Regions from separate parts of the Homo sapiens genome. Here regions 2 and 3 are each linked to region 1. The links are contacts of gene promoters, found by promoter capture Hi-C in blood cells and fetal thymus (Javierre and others, 2016). All regions are on one chromosome and are shown on one strand. The core of a region is centred on a gene start or on the middle of the fragment in contact, and the rest is flanking DNA. Distances in the headings are between cores, read along the strand shown. Region 1 holds the start of TMEM86B (transmembrane protein 86B). Region 2 holds the start of CCDC106 (coiled-coil domain containing 106). Region 3 overlaps ZNF784 (zinc finger protein 784).

Region 1 (4,097 bases), core at 1,598-4,097:
TGCTATGAGTCACTGAAAGCACATCATGGATGCAGAAGTCAAATAGGGTCTTGGAGAGCAGCTTGGACCCTGTCAAGTCTTCAGATGCAGAATCTGAGGACCTGAGGGATAGCAGCTTGCCGAGGTCACACAGCCTTGACAAGGAGCACAGCTGGGTTCCTCCTTCCCATTTGATTCCTACCCCCTTGCCGCCCTCCCTCCTCCAAGACCCCTCATCCTCAAGCCTCCCACCCTTCTCCCGATACTGCATGTGACTGCAGCGGGTTGTATCCCCTAGAAAGATATGTCCAAGTCCTAACCCCAGATACCTCTGCAGGTGACACTACTTGGAAATAGGGGCTTTGCAGACATACTTAAGGATCTTGAGATAGAATCACCCTGGGTTTAGGGTGGGCCCTAAATCCAATGACCTGTGTCCCTAGAAGGATGCGGACACAGAGGGAGGCTGCCAGTTGAAGACAGTCACATGAAGACGGAGAGACACAGCCACAGGCCGATGGAAGCCAGGGATTCCCGGGAGCCTCCAGAAGCCGAGAGGGCAAGGACGGATTCTTCCCTGGAGCCTCAAGAGGGACCATGGGCCGGAAAACACCCGGATTTTGGACTTTGGGTCTCCAGAACTGCAGGAGAGTCCATTCATCTTGTTTCAAAGCATCTGGCTTGGGGTAATTTGTGACAGCAGCCTCAGGAAACTAACACAAAGACCAAACAGTCCTCTTGGCTCAGTTCTGCACAATCCTCACTTTATCCCCCCGAATCCCCCCACCAGAGGGCCATGGAGGGTCCCACTGGGCACCAGGCCTGGTCCATGGGGAGCGACAAAGAACCTTCTGCTGTCATTAACCGCGATGGTTTATCACAATCATGACCCTCCCCGAGGCCTCTCCTACGGTAACAGCAACATCTACGGTTCCACACCCACAGGGAAAACGGATTCAGAGCAGCAGCAGGGGGCGGGCAGGCTGTGGGGCCGACAGTGAACATGGAGGCAGGCTGGTGGCTGGGAGGGCTCCATGTGGGCCTGGCTGAGGAGCCAGGGATCTGGAGTCAGAACCGGGGGAAGGCAGCTGGAACCCAGTAGTGGACTTGGAATTCCGCAAATCGTCCTCAAACGTCTTCAGCCAGAAGCGACGGCGGCAGCGGCGCCTGCAGACAGGCGTCAGGAAGCTTCGCTGCTGAGGGTATTTCTCAGGCTGGGCTGGGCTGGGAGGCCCAGGTCCTTGCAGGAGGAGAGGGCCTGAACACCGGCCCTTCAAGCTCCCTAGTCAGTCAGTCTTGGGCACCGGGCTCCTGAGGGCTGACAGTGTGATGAGGAGCTGGGCAGCATAGTAGGTGGTCATGATCACCAGGTGGGCATGGGGCAGGGGCTGGGCGAAGGTGTCCCAGGCCAGCACGCCATCAGAGAGCGTGAAGAGCAGCGCGCCCCAGCCGGCACTCCCGCCCTGGGCCAGGCCGCGCCACAGCATGGCCATCAGGATCAGCCCATAGGCTGCCACCGGCAGGACCATATCCGGCTCGAGGTGCTGGAGCACAAGGCTGAGGTAGGGGCCAGGGGCCAGGATGATGAGCAGCAGCAGGCCGGGCTGCAGGGGAGAGAAGCCGAAGGCCCAGACGTAGAGGAGGTGGGCGGTGGCAAAGGCGGCCATGCCTGGCGGGAGAGGGGTGGGGTACCAGTGAGGAAGGCCCATCCTGGGAATGGCCCCGAGGTCACCCCTCAGGGCCTAAGAGAAGGACCATCCCAGAGCACCAGGCCCCACCCTGGCCGAGCCTCCTTGCAGGTCTCCCCACATGCAGTGTCCATCCTTGCTCTGCTCAGAACTGCCAGGAGGCCCCACCTTCCCTTGGCCTCCAAAGCCCCATGGCCTCCAGCTCTCCAGCCACTCTGCGCCAGCCACCCTGGCCTGCTGGGCTACAAGCACCTGACACGTCCCTGCCCCGGAGCCTTTACACTCGCCCTTCCTCCACACAGGCATACAGCCCTTCAGCTCTGCCCAAATGTGACTTCCTCAGTGAGGCCTTCCTCAGCAACCCTGCTTCAAACTGCAGTACCTCCAGCAGGTCCTCACTGCCCTCTGCGCCACCTCAGCTACTGCCCTAACACCGCCTGCCCCCACCCCTCGCTGGAGCGTGAGCTGCCTCGGTCACGGCTGCGCCCCCCACTGTGCCTTTGACCACTGGAGCTCTCACAGGAGCCCTCTGCACCCAGGCTCCCATCCAAGTGCTGGGGCCTCTCTCACACGGGCATCTGGAAAGCGTCACAGCACCTTCCACTCACCAGGGACGAAGGCTGCCGGCCAGATGAGGCAAGCGTCCCCCACAGCCGAGCACACAAGGGCTCCCTGGAGGAGCTGGGTGTAGCCCCCGCTTGGGGACATGACCCACAGGAACCCAGCCAGGCAGAGGACGGGCAGGCACTTGACCAGGGCAGCGAACCAGGACAGCTGGTCCTCGGGAATCCAGAGGCAGAAGTACACGCAGCAGGAGAGGATGAAGGGGCTCAGCCACCTGCAGACATCTGGGCGCTTTGGGGAGTGGGGAGCTACTGAGCCGAAACCCAGCCCAGCCCCCATTCTTGGGACTCAGATCTCATGGCTCCTGTCCCACCCCCACCTGGGACCCCAGCTGTACAGGCTGGACCCATTCAGGGACCAGGCTGCCAGAACCCAGCTTCCCAGGGCCCAACCAACTCAAGGACAGCAGCTCCCAGACCCGCCGGCTGCTGGGGTTCCAGGGCCCTGTCCCCCCAGCCCCAGGCACAGCTCAGAAGGCTCTCACCTGGGCTGAGCAGTGAGTCTTCAGGGTCTGCCCCGCTTTGCCAGCGTCCATGCTGGCCTGATAGCCCCAGAGCGACCTAATCTGGGAGCGAGTGGCTTCAGGGGGTGGAGGGGAGGGCTCATGGTTACACGTTAACCCAAGGAGCGTCCTGTGGACTCTGTGACTGATAACAGGGCCCAGGGAGATGTTGTCCTCACCCTGGGGATGGCCCTGCCTGGCGCCCGCTGATAAAGCACTGTTGGCACTGGGGGTCCCTCTGCCCTAGCCTGCTGGGACATGGCTTCCTCCTCCTATCTGCCTGGGGAGGTTAGGCCCACAAATGCCTGTCCCCTTGTCCTGGGCCCCAACAATCAGAAGAGATGGGGTGCAGAATTCCAACAGCCACCCCATCATGGGAAGCGGGAGAGGGGCTGGCTGGCAGGAGTGCCCCTGGAGGGATGGGAAGGCGAGTCTGTCCTTCACTTGCTGCCCTAGCCGTCTCCCTCCCTGCTCCATGAAACCTTTCCTCATTCTGCTCAACCCCACCAAGCCCTCAGGGGCTCCACCACAAACACTGCTTCAATGGGTGACCAGGAGGGACCACCACGAATGCGGGGAACAAGCACCCTCTCCTGTTAGCTGAGCGAGCCCCCAGGTGACCTCCAAGCCAACTGCCACCCCAGTGAGGACGCTGTCCTCATGGCCCGGTCCACACGCTCCGGTTTCCCAGCGCCGCTCACCGGTGCCACTCGCTGCACACGCAGCCTACACTTCTACCTTCTACCTGAAAGACTCAGACCTACTGGGCGCCAGTACCCAGCCTCAATGCTGGGCTTGGTTACTGGGGGTAAGCAGGGGCAGGAGCAGGGATTTGAGCCTGTCGGTGGCTTCTATCCTCTGCCCAAGGCCCTGCCCACAGGTGGGGTAGACCTGGCAGGAGCCCTCACAGCCAGTGCCTGGCCCAGCCTGGGGCCTCTGCAGCCACAGGGCTCCCTCTGGCAGGACAGTGTGGGGGCAGACTGGGTCAGGAGCACCCCCAGCCTCTGGGGTGCAGGGATAATACAGGCTCCCCACCCCGCATCCCAGAACGTAAGGTCTGACCAGCAGAATCGTAAACTGCCTTCCTTTATTTATATTTGCAATATGAAATAGAAGCTCGGCACAAACGCACGCACACTCACACCAGCCTGGGAGGAGGGAGCTGGGGACAAGGTCACTTGGCAACAGGGCTGGGACCTCAGACCCTCAAGGCCCCTGGGGCTGTTGCCGGGGAGGCCCCTGCTCCCCAGAGCCGGACTGGCCTGGTTGAAAGTGCAGGGTCTGGGCAAAGGCACGGCCCCCAC
Region 2 (4,097 bases), core at 927-3,426, 420 kb after region 1:
CCCAGCTAATTTTGTATTTTTAGTAGAGACGGGGTTTCTCCATGTTGGTCAGGCTGTTCTTGAACTCCCAACCTCAGGTGATTCACCTGCCTCGGCCTCCCAAAGTGCTGGGATTCCAGGTGTGAGCCACAGCGCCTGGCCTCTTTTTTTTTAGACGGAGTTTCGCTCTTGTCACCCAGGCTGGAGTGTAATGGCGTGATCTCAGCTCACTGCAACCTTCACCTCCTGGGTTCAAGCGATTCTCCTGCTTCAGCCTCCCAAGTAGTTGGGGTTACAAGCGTGTGCCACCATGCCCAGCTAATTTTGTACCTTTAGTAGAGATGGGTTTCACCGTGTTTGTCAGGCTGGTCTCGAACTCCTGACCTGAGGTGATCCACACACCTCGGCCTCCCTCAGGGCACTAGGCCTCGAAACAAAAGTTTTTTTTTTTTTTTTCTTTTGAGACGGAGTCTTGCTCTGTCGCCCAGGCTGGAGTGCAGTGGCGCAATCTCGGCTCACTGCAAGCTCCGCCTCCCGAGTTCATGCCATTCTCCTGCCTCAGCCTCCTGAGTAGGTGGGACTACAGGCGCCCGCCACCATGCCTGTCTAATTTTTTGTATTTTTAGTAGAGACAGGGTTTCACTGTGTTAGCCAGGATGGTCTCGATCTCCTGACCTCGTGATCCGCCCCCCTCTGCCTCCCAAAGTGTTGGGATTACAGGCGTGAGCCACTGCGCCCGGCCCACAAAAATTTCTTTACCATAGTTAGCTTTAGTTTGTGCATTTTTTTTTCCATCAACTATTATTATTACTATTTGAGACGGAGTCTCGCTGTGTCGCCCAGGCTGGAGCGTGGTGCGATCTCGGCTCACTGCAACCTCCACCTCCCCGGTTTAAGCGATTCTCCTGCCTCAGCCTCCTGAGTAGCTGGGATTACAGGTGTGCACCACCACGCCCGGCTAAATATTTTTTTAAACTGCTGATTTCATCCTATTCTATTGAATTCTCCACCCATGAACCTGTAGTTTGGAAAAGACCAATCTAGGGCAGATGGCTCCCCCTGGAATTTTTGGACCAGGCTGCAGTTAATCTGTAAAGTGGGGAGGGGAGGATCATGGTCACAGCTTTGCAGGCGGTGCAGACATTTAGATTCTCCCTCCATCGGGTTAAGACCTTGCTCTTATAAGGGCTGGCCACAGTCCAGAGCTTGGATGCTTCTGGTGAACAGGAGAGGCAGGTGGAGCTGAGCCTGAAGCTTAATAAACATCTGCTTATTCATTCATTTTTCTTGCCTATTTTGTGCCAGGCACTGTGCTAGGCCTCATTTGCTCTTCCGACCTGTTTTTTTGGGAGGAAGAACAAATCTTCCGTTCATACTCCCCAGAGTGGGAAAGAGCCTCCCAGAGGCTGCCATCATACCCCACCATCTGACCTCAAATAATACCAGCAGCGCTCCTCTCTTCAGCCCTGACGATGGCCAGGTGCTGGGCTGAGCTTCTGTGTGTCGCATCACTGCATCCTCACAATAAATTTAGAAGGGCTTGTAATTTCCCCATTTTGCAGGTGAGTTAACAGGCTGGGGAGGAGCAGGAACAGTCAGGACTGGAATCTAGCTTTGCTCCAAAGCCAGCTCTTAATTACCAACATGGGGATGGGGGTGGCGTGTTCCTGGCCCTCATTTTCCGGGAGAGGGGTAACTCCCCCGATTTTGGCCCCCACATCCCTGAGAACCTTGGGGTCTGGCTGTAGGAGGTAGGGGAGCTCTGAGGGGTCCGCGCTGGCTAGTTCCTGAGAGAGCGTTAAAAGTAGATTCTCCTTTCGCTCCAACTTTCTCGGTGTCTCAAACACTCTCCTGCCTTCTGGGCCCATTGGGCACACCGCCACCCAATCCGGGGACCCCCGGAGACTCGCCAGCTCTCCAGGATGGGAATTTCGTGATGTTCCCTGCCTGAGCTTCGGGGAGGGCGGGGGAGTGCTGTAAGGGGCTATCGCGCAAGTGCAGACCCTCTGCTTCTGCCGCAAACGGCGGGCCTCACCTGGACCCGGGGACTCTTCAACGAGGGGCGCTAGCCTGGCCCGACTGGGCGAGTCCCCGCGTCCCTGCCCGTTCCGTCGCTCAGTTCCACGACACGCTCCCCTGCCGCCCCGCCTGTTCGCGGGTGGGTGGGCGCTTCCCTCGGCTCCCCGTGACACTTTGCAGACGCTCCCCGGCGCCGGGCATGGGCGCCGCCGCCGTCGGTCCCCGAGCCGGATTCCGCGAGCGGGTGGGTGAGCGCGGGGGGCCTCGGCCCCTCGGACCCCGGGCACCCGCGGGCGGGGGATGGTGGCCGCGTTTGCACCCCCGCCCTAGTGCATGTTCCCGCTGGAATCGTTCCACGACCGCTCCCCCTCCCACCCGCGGGACAAAGGGCGGGGGCGGGGGGGGCGCACCCCCACGCGTGACCTTTCCCCGTACTGCGCACGCGCCCAGCCCCCACCACCGGGGGACGGTCCGCCCGCCCACGCGAGTGCGGGGGAGGGGTGTGGGGGCCCCGAAGGTAGAGGAGGCAGCGCGCACGGGCTGGACCTCCTCCTACCCTGGGAAGTTGGGGCAGTTTCCCCCTGCACCTGCCTCTTCCTTAGGCCTGGCAGTGGCCCGCGATGAGAGAGGGTCCTTCCCCTTCAGGCTAGGTGTCCCTGGTCAGGCGACCCCTTGGGGCACCCAGCAATTTAGGGCTTCAGCTTCCTTTTCCTTCGATACCCAGGAGCCCACGTCCCCAGCTCACTTCTCCCCCAGGACCTAGGCGGCTGGGCCCCCTGCCCCTGACTCCAGGAGCCCAGGAGTTTGAAGCCCAGGCGCGTTTTGCCTCAGTCCTGGGGTCCAGGCTCCCTCCTCCCTCAGACCAGGGGTCCAGGCCAGAAGGTCCCTCCTGTCTCACTTCACCTCCCCCAGGATGGACCCTCCAGTCCATCTGCGTCTCTCCATTTGTGGCTGCCGTTTCTGTCCAGTGCCCCTGAGGCCCTCGGCTGCTGGGGTCCGTAGGAAGCCGCGCCATGAATGACCGGAGCAGTCGGAGGCGGACAAGTGAGGAAGCTGGGTCCCCTTCCCTACCCTGGGTCCCAGTGCGGTCGGCTCCAGGCTGCCGTGGTTGGGGGGTGGCCTGAGAGGCCCGGGGAATTCTCTGGGGTAACCCGGGGCCTCTCCTCTCCAGTGAAGGACGATGAGACCTTCGAGATCTCCATTCCCTTCGATGAGGCACCCCACCTAGACCCACAGATCTTTTACAGTCTGAGCCCCTCTCGGAGAAACTTCGAGGGTGAGCTGAGGGGGTGTGGAGGGACTGGAGTCAGCTGGGAAGCCAAGCCCTGAGTCCCAGGGTGTGACCTGGTCCCCCCACCCTCGCTGTGTCCCTAGAGCCTCCGGAGGCTGCGTCCTCCGCCCTGGCTCTGATGAACAGCGTCAAGACCCAGCTGCACATGGCTCTGGAGAGGAACTCCTGGCTGCAGAAGCGCATCGAGGACCTGGAGGAAGAGAGGGACTTCCTGCGGTGCCAGCTGGACAAATTCATCTCTTCTGCTCGGATGGAGGCAGGTGTGTGTGGGGTGCTCTGATCCACATGCCTCCCTGTCCCGCTACTGGGTACCCGCTCACCCAGACTCAAGGCTCCACTGTTTGGCTGGCTGGGTGGGACCTGCCATGTTGGCCCTATCTGCTAGTCCCCTGCCTGTTTTGGGCCCCCAGGCCCAGCTGCCTCCTCACTTGATTCCAGGGCCTCATCCCCATGAACTGTCTACTGGGGCCCGTCCTCCTGCCTTCTCCGTCAGCTCCCCAAATCCCATCAGCCTCCAGTGCCCTGCCATCTGCTTCCTTGGCCCATGGTGACTTCAGGGACCCTGGCACCTGAGAGCCCCTCTCTTCTGACTCCTAGGGGGACCTTCCTTCATCTCTTTGGCCAAGAGGCCCACCCTAGTTCTTTGGGTTTCCTCAGGGGGCCCCTGCTCCTCCTCCCGTCCCTGTCTTCTCCAAGATCCAAGAGTCCAGCCATCCGGCCTCCTCCTGTCCCCCCCTCCCCTCTGTGACACCAGGGGCCATCTTCCCACCCACCCTGTCCCATCCTTGGTTAATGAGCACTCCTTCCC
Region 3 (4,097 bases), core at 542-3,041, 390 kb after region 1:
GTAATCCCAGCACTTTGGGAGGCCGAGGCGGGCAGATCACTTGAGGTCAGGCGTTTGAGACCAGCCTGGCCAAAGTGGTGAAACCCCATCTCTACTAAGAATACAAAACTTAGCTGGACATGGTGGTGGGCATCTGTAATCCCAGCTACTCAGGAGGCTGAGGCAGGAGAATCACTTGAACTCAGGAGGCAGAGATTGCAGTGAGCTGAGATCGCACCACTGCATCCAGCCTGGGTGACAGAGTGAGACTCCATCTCAACAAATAAATAATTTGGACTTCAGTCCCAGAGTACTTCAGTACAGAAACTTGAAGATGAGGCCAGGTGCAGTGGCTCATGCCTGTAATCCCAGTACTTTGGGAGCCCAAGGCGAGCAGATCACCTGAGGTCAGGAGTTCGAGACCAGTCTGGCCAACATGGTGAACCATCCTTTCTACTAAAAGTACAAAAATTAGCTGGGCGTGATGGCAGGTGCCTGTAATCCCAGCTACTCGGGAGGCTGAGGCAGGAGAATCACTTGAACCCAGGAGGTGGAGGTTGCAGTGAGCTGAGATTGCGCCACTGCACTCCGGCCTAGGCGACAAGAGCGAGATTCCATCTCAAAAAAAAAAAAAAAAAAAAAAAAGGAAAAAAAGAAACTTGAAGATGAAACTAGGTAAGAGCGCTGCTTGGGTGAGTCCTGTGTGACCCATGGGAGAGCAGCTACCCTGTGTGGCTCCATGTTCTAATGCTGAAGACCCAGCATGAGACAGACGTTGTGCCAGTGCCCCCAGGGTTCAGGGTTCAGCAGTAACATGGAAATGGAGCCTCACAGTGTAAGGGACTTGGAAGTATCACTAGGGCTTGAGGGAGCACAGAGGAGTCACCTGTCAGAGTGGAAGGGGGGCTAGAAAAGCTTCTTGGGGAGAAGGTGATCCCTGAACGATGACATAAACCAACTGGAGTTTTCCAGGTAAAGAAGTGGCAAAGAGGCCGGGCACGGTGGCTCATGCCTGTAATCCTAGCACTTTGGGAGGCCGAGGCAGGTGGATCACGAGGTCAGGAGCTCCAGACCATCCTGGCTAACACGGTGAAACCCTGTCTCTACTAAAAATACAAAAAATCAGCCGGGTGTGGTGGTGGGAGCAGGTGGCAGGCGCCTGTAGTCCCAGCTACACGGGAGGCTGAGGCAGGAGAATGGCATGAACCCAGAAGGCGGAGCTTGCAGTGAGCCGAGATCATGCCACTGCACTCCATCCTGGGCGACAGAGCAAGGCTCTGTCTCAAAAAAATAAATAAATAAGAAAAAAAAAAAAAAAAAGAAGTGGCAAAGATTTCCAGGCGGAGAGTTTAGTGTGTTGAACTAAACCCTGCTATTCTGGAGCATTTAAGACAGATTAGTATGGCTGGAGGTTGGGTTCCTGGGGGCTAAACCCTGAAGGGTCTTGAATTCCAAACTGTGGGGCTTGGGTGATTTTATAGGCTAGAGGCTGGAAACTGGCAGCTGCAAGGCCGAATATGACCACTAACACATTTTTGTTTAGTCTGTGCATTTTTTAAAAAGTTTGACTTGACTGCCAACATTGGGAAATCAAAAGATTTTACATAATGTGAACTAATGGAACTTCTGAAAGAAACTGGAAGATGTGGCAACCCAATCTGTGTTCCGGAGCTGAGCAGCCATTACCCTCTTCTGAAGAGGCACTCTCCAATTTGTTGAATACCAATTCTGAGACCTGGTGGCAATCGCCATTATTTCATGTTGCTGATATTTTCCCCTTGAACCTGGCCGTCTTGCTCGTGTATTTACATTTTCACCCAGCTCCTGTAGGCATTCACATTTCCAAATCGTCTCAAAGCCACAAGGAGCTGTGTCTTGGTGACAAGGATCTGCATGGATGCCATATGGAGAATGAAGAGGGCAGGTGGCCGGGTGCAGTGGCTCACGCCTGTAATCCCAACACTTTGGGAGGCCGAGGCGAGTAGATCACCTGAGGTAAGGAATTTGAGACCAGCCTGGCCAACATGATGAAACCCCATCTCTACTAAAAATACAAAAATGAACTGAGCGTGATGGCGCCCACCTGTAATCCTAGCTACTCAGGAGGCTGAGGCAGAAGTGCTTGAATCCAGGAGGCAGAGGTTGCAGTGAGCAGAGATTGTGCCATTGGACTCCAGCCTGGGCAACAAGAGCAAAACTCCATCTCAAAAAAAAAAAAAAAAAAAAAAAAAAAAAAAAAAAAAAAAAAAAATGCAGGCACTGGACTGCTGTGCAGTTGTCTGTGTGTGAGACCACTGTTGGTCTACAAGTGTAGTGATGCCGAAAACACGTTCCAGTTCCAAAGATATTAACTGGCTCAACTGAGGGAAACTGATAAGGGACTGGACATAAGAATGAGGATGAAGAAGGTTTAAACCTGCCCAGGTATCCAGCTTGGGTGGTGGTGCCAATGACATCAGAAGCATGGAGGTTTCTTTGAGGAAAATGGAATGAGTTCTGTTCACATTGTGAGTTGCCTGTGAGTTATCTCATGGGGCCCACTGGGTGAACAGAAAGGTGTGCAAATCAGAGGCTCTCACTCAACAAGCATGCAAAGCATGTTGAGTGTGCTTTTGCCAAACTTCCCTGACCCCCCTCTCCTACAGCTGAACCACATAACACGTAACCACAGTGGGGCCTACTCACCCCCCATTCTGATGATGGGGAAACAGAAGCTTGGAGGAAGAGATGATGCAACTGACTGCTGGTGGCAAAACCATGGTGAGGCCCCTCCTCCCCCAACTCCCCAAAGCGGACAATCCGAATACAAGACCGACAGAGAAGCCCTTCAGAAGGTCCTTTAATAGGAACAGAACTGAAGGTGTCACACCTCCAGCTCCCAAGTCCTCCTCTCGCCCCCACCACAGTGACTCTTTCACTCCACACCCAGGCCAGCCCACCATGCTGCCATCAGCCAGCCCGCCCTTGGGATTGGCGGGGACTAGGCAGTAAGCTGTTTGCTTCGAACTGGGAGTGGAGGAAATTAGAGAAACCTGAGGCTACCTTGAGGCTTGTGGGGGACCCTGGGCTCTGAGTCTAAAGCTTTAGGAGGGGGATGCTAGGTAGCTGCTTGCTTTATGTGTTCTCAGTTGCCTCCGAAGAAGAGTGGATGGGTTAAGGACGGACCACAATGGGGGTGGGGGTTGCCGCTGTTGGAGTCAAGATCCTATGGTCAGGCTTACATCCTTGAGGCTCAAGTGCTCTCAGCGGTGACTTGGGGACCCTCTGGCTTTGAGGTGATGGGATCCCAGAGTCTCTTCACAGATAACCTGGTGAGTGTCTTCTGCCAGAGGGTGGATAGGCATCCCAGGTCCAGTGCAATGCAGTGAGGTAGGCAGGAGACTCCATCCTGGTCCACCCGTGGAGGACCAGAGCAGAAGACTATGGTGGACCCCAATTCCCCCCTTCCATTCGATCCTGGCTCCTCCTCTGAAGTGCCCAGGCTCTGTCGTGACAGGCTGGGTCTTGCACAAGGACAAGCCAACCAAGAGACAGTCGGGGAAGTGACATCCAGCCCGTGGGCCTTGCCTTTGGCCGCACACCCGCAGAGCTGCAAGAGCTGCACCTGTCCTCTCCTAGGCCTGGCAGAGGTGCTGTGTGGGCGTGTGGGAGTCTGGAGCCTGGCCCTCTCCCTCTGCTCTCCATCACTAGCGGCTCACAACCATCCCTGCAGCTGTCATCTCTCCCCCAATCTCCCCTCTTCTGTCCCCTGCCTCCGTTTCCCCACCCCGTCCCCCTCCCCGGGTCGGCCTCGTACCTCCGCCTTAACTAACCCATGTCCCTGGTCTGCAGCCTACTGGTCGGCCTCCACCTTCACCTTCGCGGTCTCCCCCCGCCCCTCCTCCGCAGGGTCCCCTACCCCACACCCGCTCCCCGACCCCTCAGCCGCCGACGAGCCCAGCTGGCCTCCAGAGTCTCCCAGCCCCGGCCCCGGCCCGTGGAAGTGGGTGCGCTGGTGCTTGCGGAAGTTGGAGGAGTTGTTGAAGGTGCGGTCGCAGAGCGTGCAGCGGAACGGGCGCTCGCCAGTGTGGATGCGGGCGTGGCCGCTAAGCACCGAGGACTGGGTGAAGCCCTTGCCG

What was found. Contacts are between HindIII fragments. The CHiCAGO score rates a contact against its expected background, and 5 or more counts as called.
Region 2: the fragment with the promoter of CCDC106 here is called in contact with the fragment with the promoter of TMEM86B in region 1 in 6 of 17 cell types (naive CD4 T cells, total CD4 T cells, non-activated CD4 T cells and 3 more); the score reaches 7.6 in naive CD4 T cells.
Region 3: a fragment that was not itself captured here is called in contact with the fragment with the promoter of TMEM86B in region 1 in 2 of 17 cell types (erythroblasts and megakaryocytes); the score reaches 6.2 in erythroblasts.

What each region holds. Positions count from the first base shown.
Region 1 is chr19:55,225,916-55,230,012 of GRCh38, forward strand. It overlaps TMEM86B (transmembrane protein 86B), which reads right to left and starts at 2,848. Exons shown (of 3, transcript NM_173804.5): 1 at 2,776-2,848; 2 at 2,276-2,522; 3 at 723-1,648. The coding sequence starts at 2,826. The coding sequence ends at 1,266. It overlaps PPP6R1 (protein phosphatase 6 regulatory subunit 1), which reads right to left. Exons shown (of 24, transcript NM_014931.4): 24 at 3,864-4,097. The HindIII fragment of the contact is 5,765 bases long and covers 1,166-4,097 here.
Region 2 is chr19:55,646,036-55,650,132 of GRCh38, forward strand. CCDC106 (coiled-coil domain containing 106) reads left to right here and starts at 2,177. Exons shown (of 5, transcript NM_001370470.1): 1 at 2,177-3,042; 2 at 3,170-3,274; 3 at 3,373-3,549. The coding sequence starts at 3,012. RefSeq lists silencers at 2,253-2,372, 2,403-2,532 and an enhancer at 3,593-3,642. The HindIII fragment of the contact is 17,145 bases long and covers 1,232-4,097 here.
Region 3 is chr19:55,617,940-55,622,036 of GRCh38, forward strand. It overlaps ZNF784 (zinc finger protein 784), which reads right to left. Exons shown (of 2, transcript NM_203374.2): 2 at 2,802-4,097. The coding sequence ends at 3,812. Among named protein-coding and RNA genes, the nearest start is that of ZNF784, 4.6 kb to the right of the region's middle. The HindIII fragment of the contact is 1,799 bases long and covers 893-2,691 here.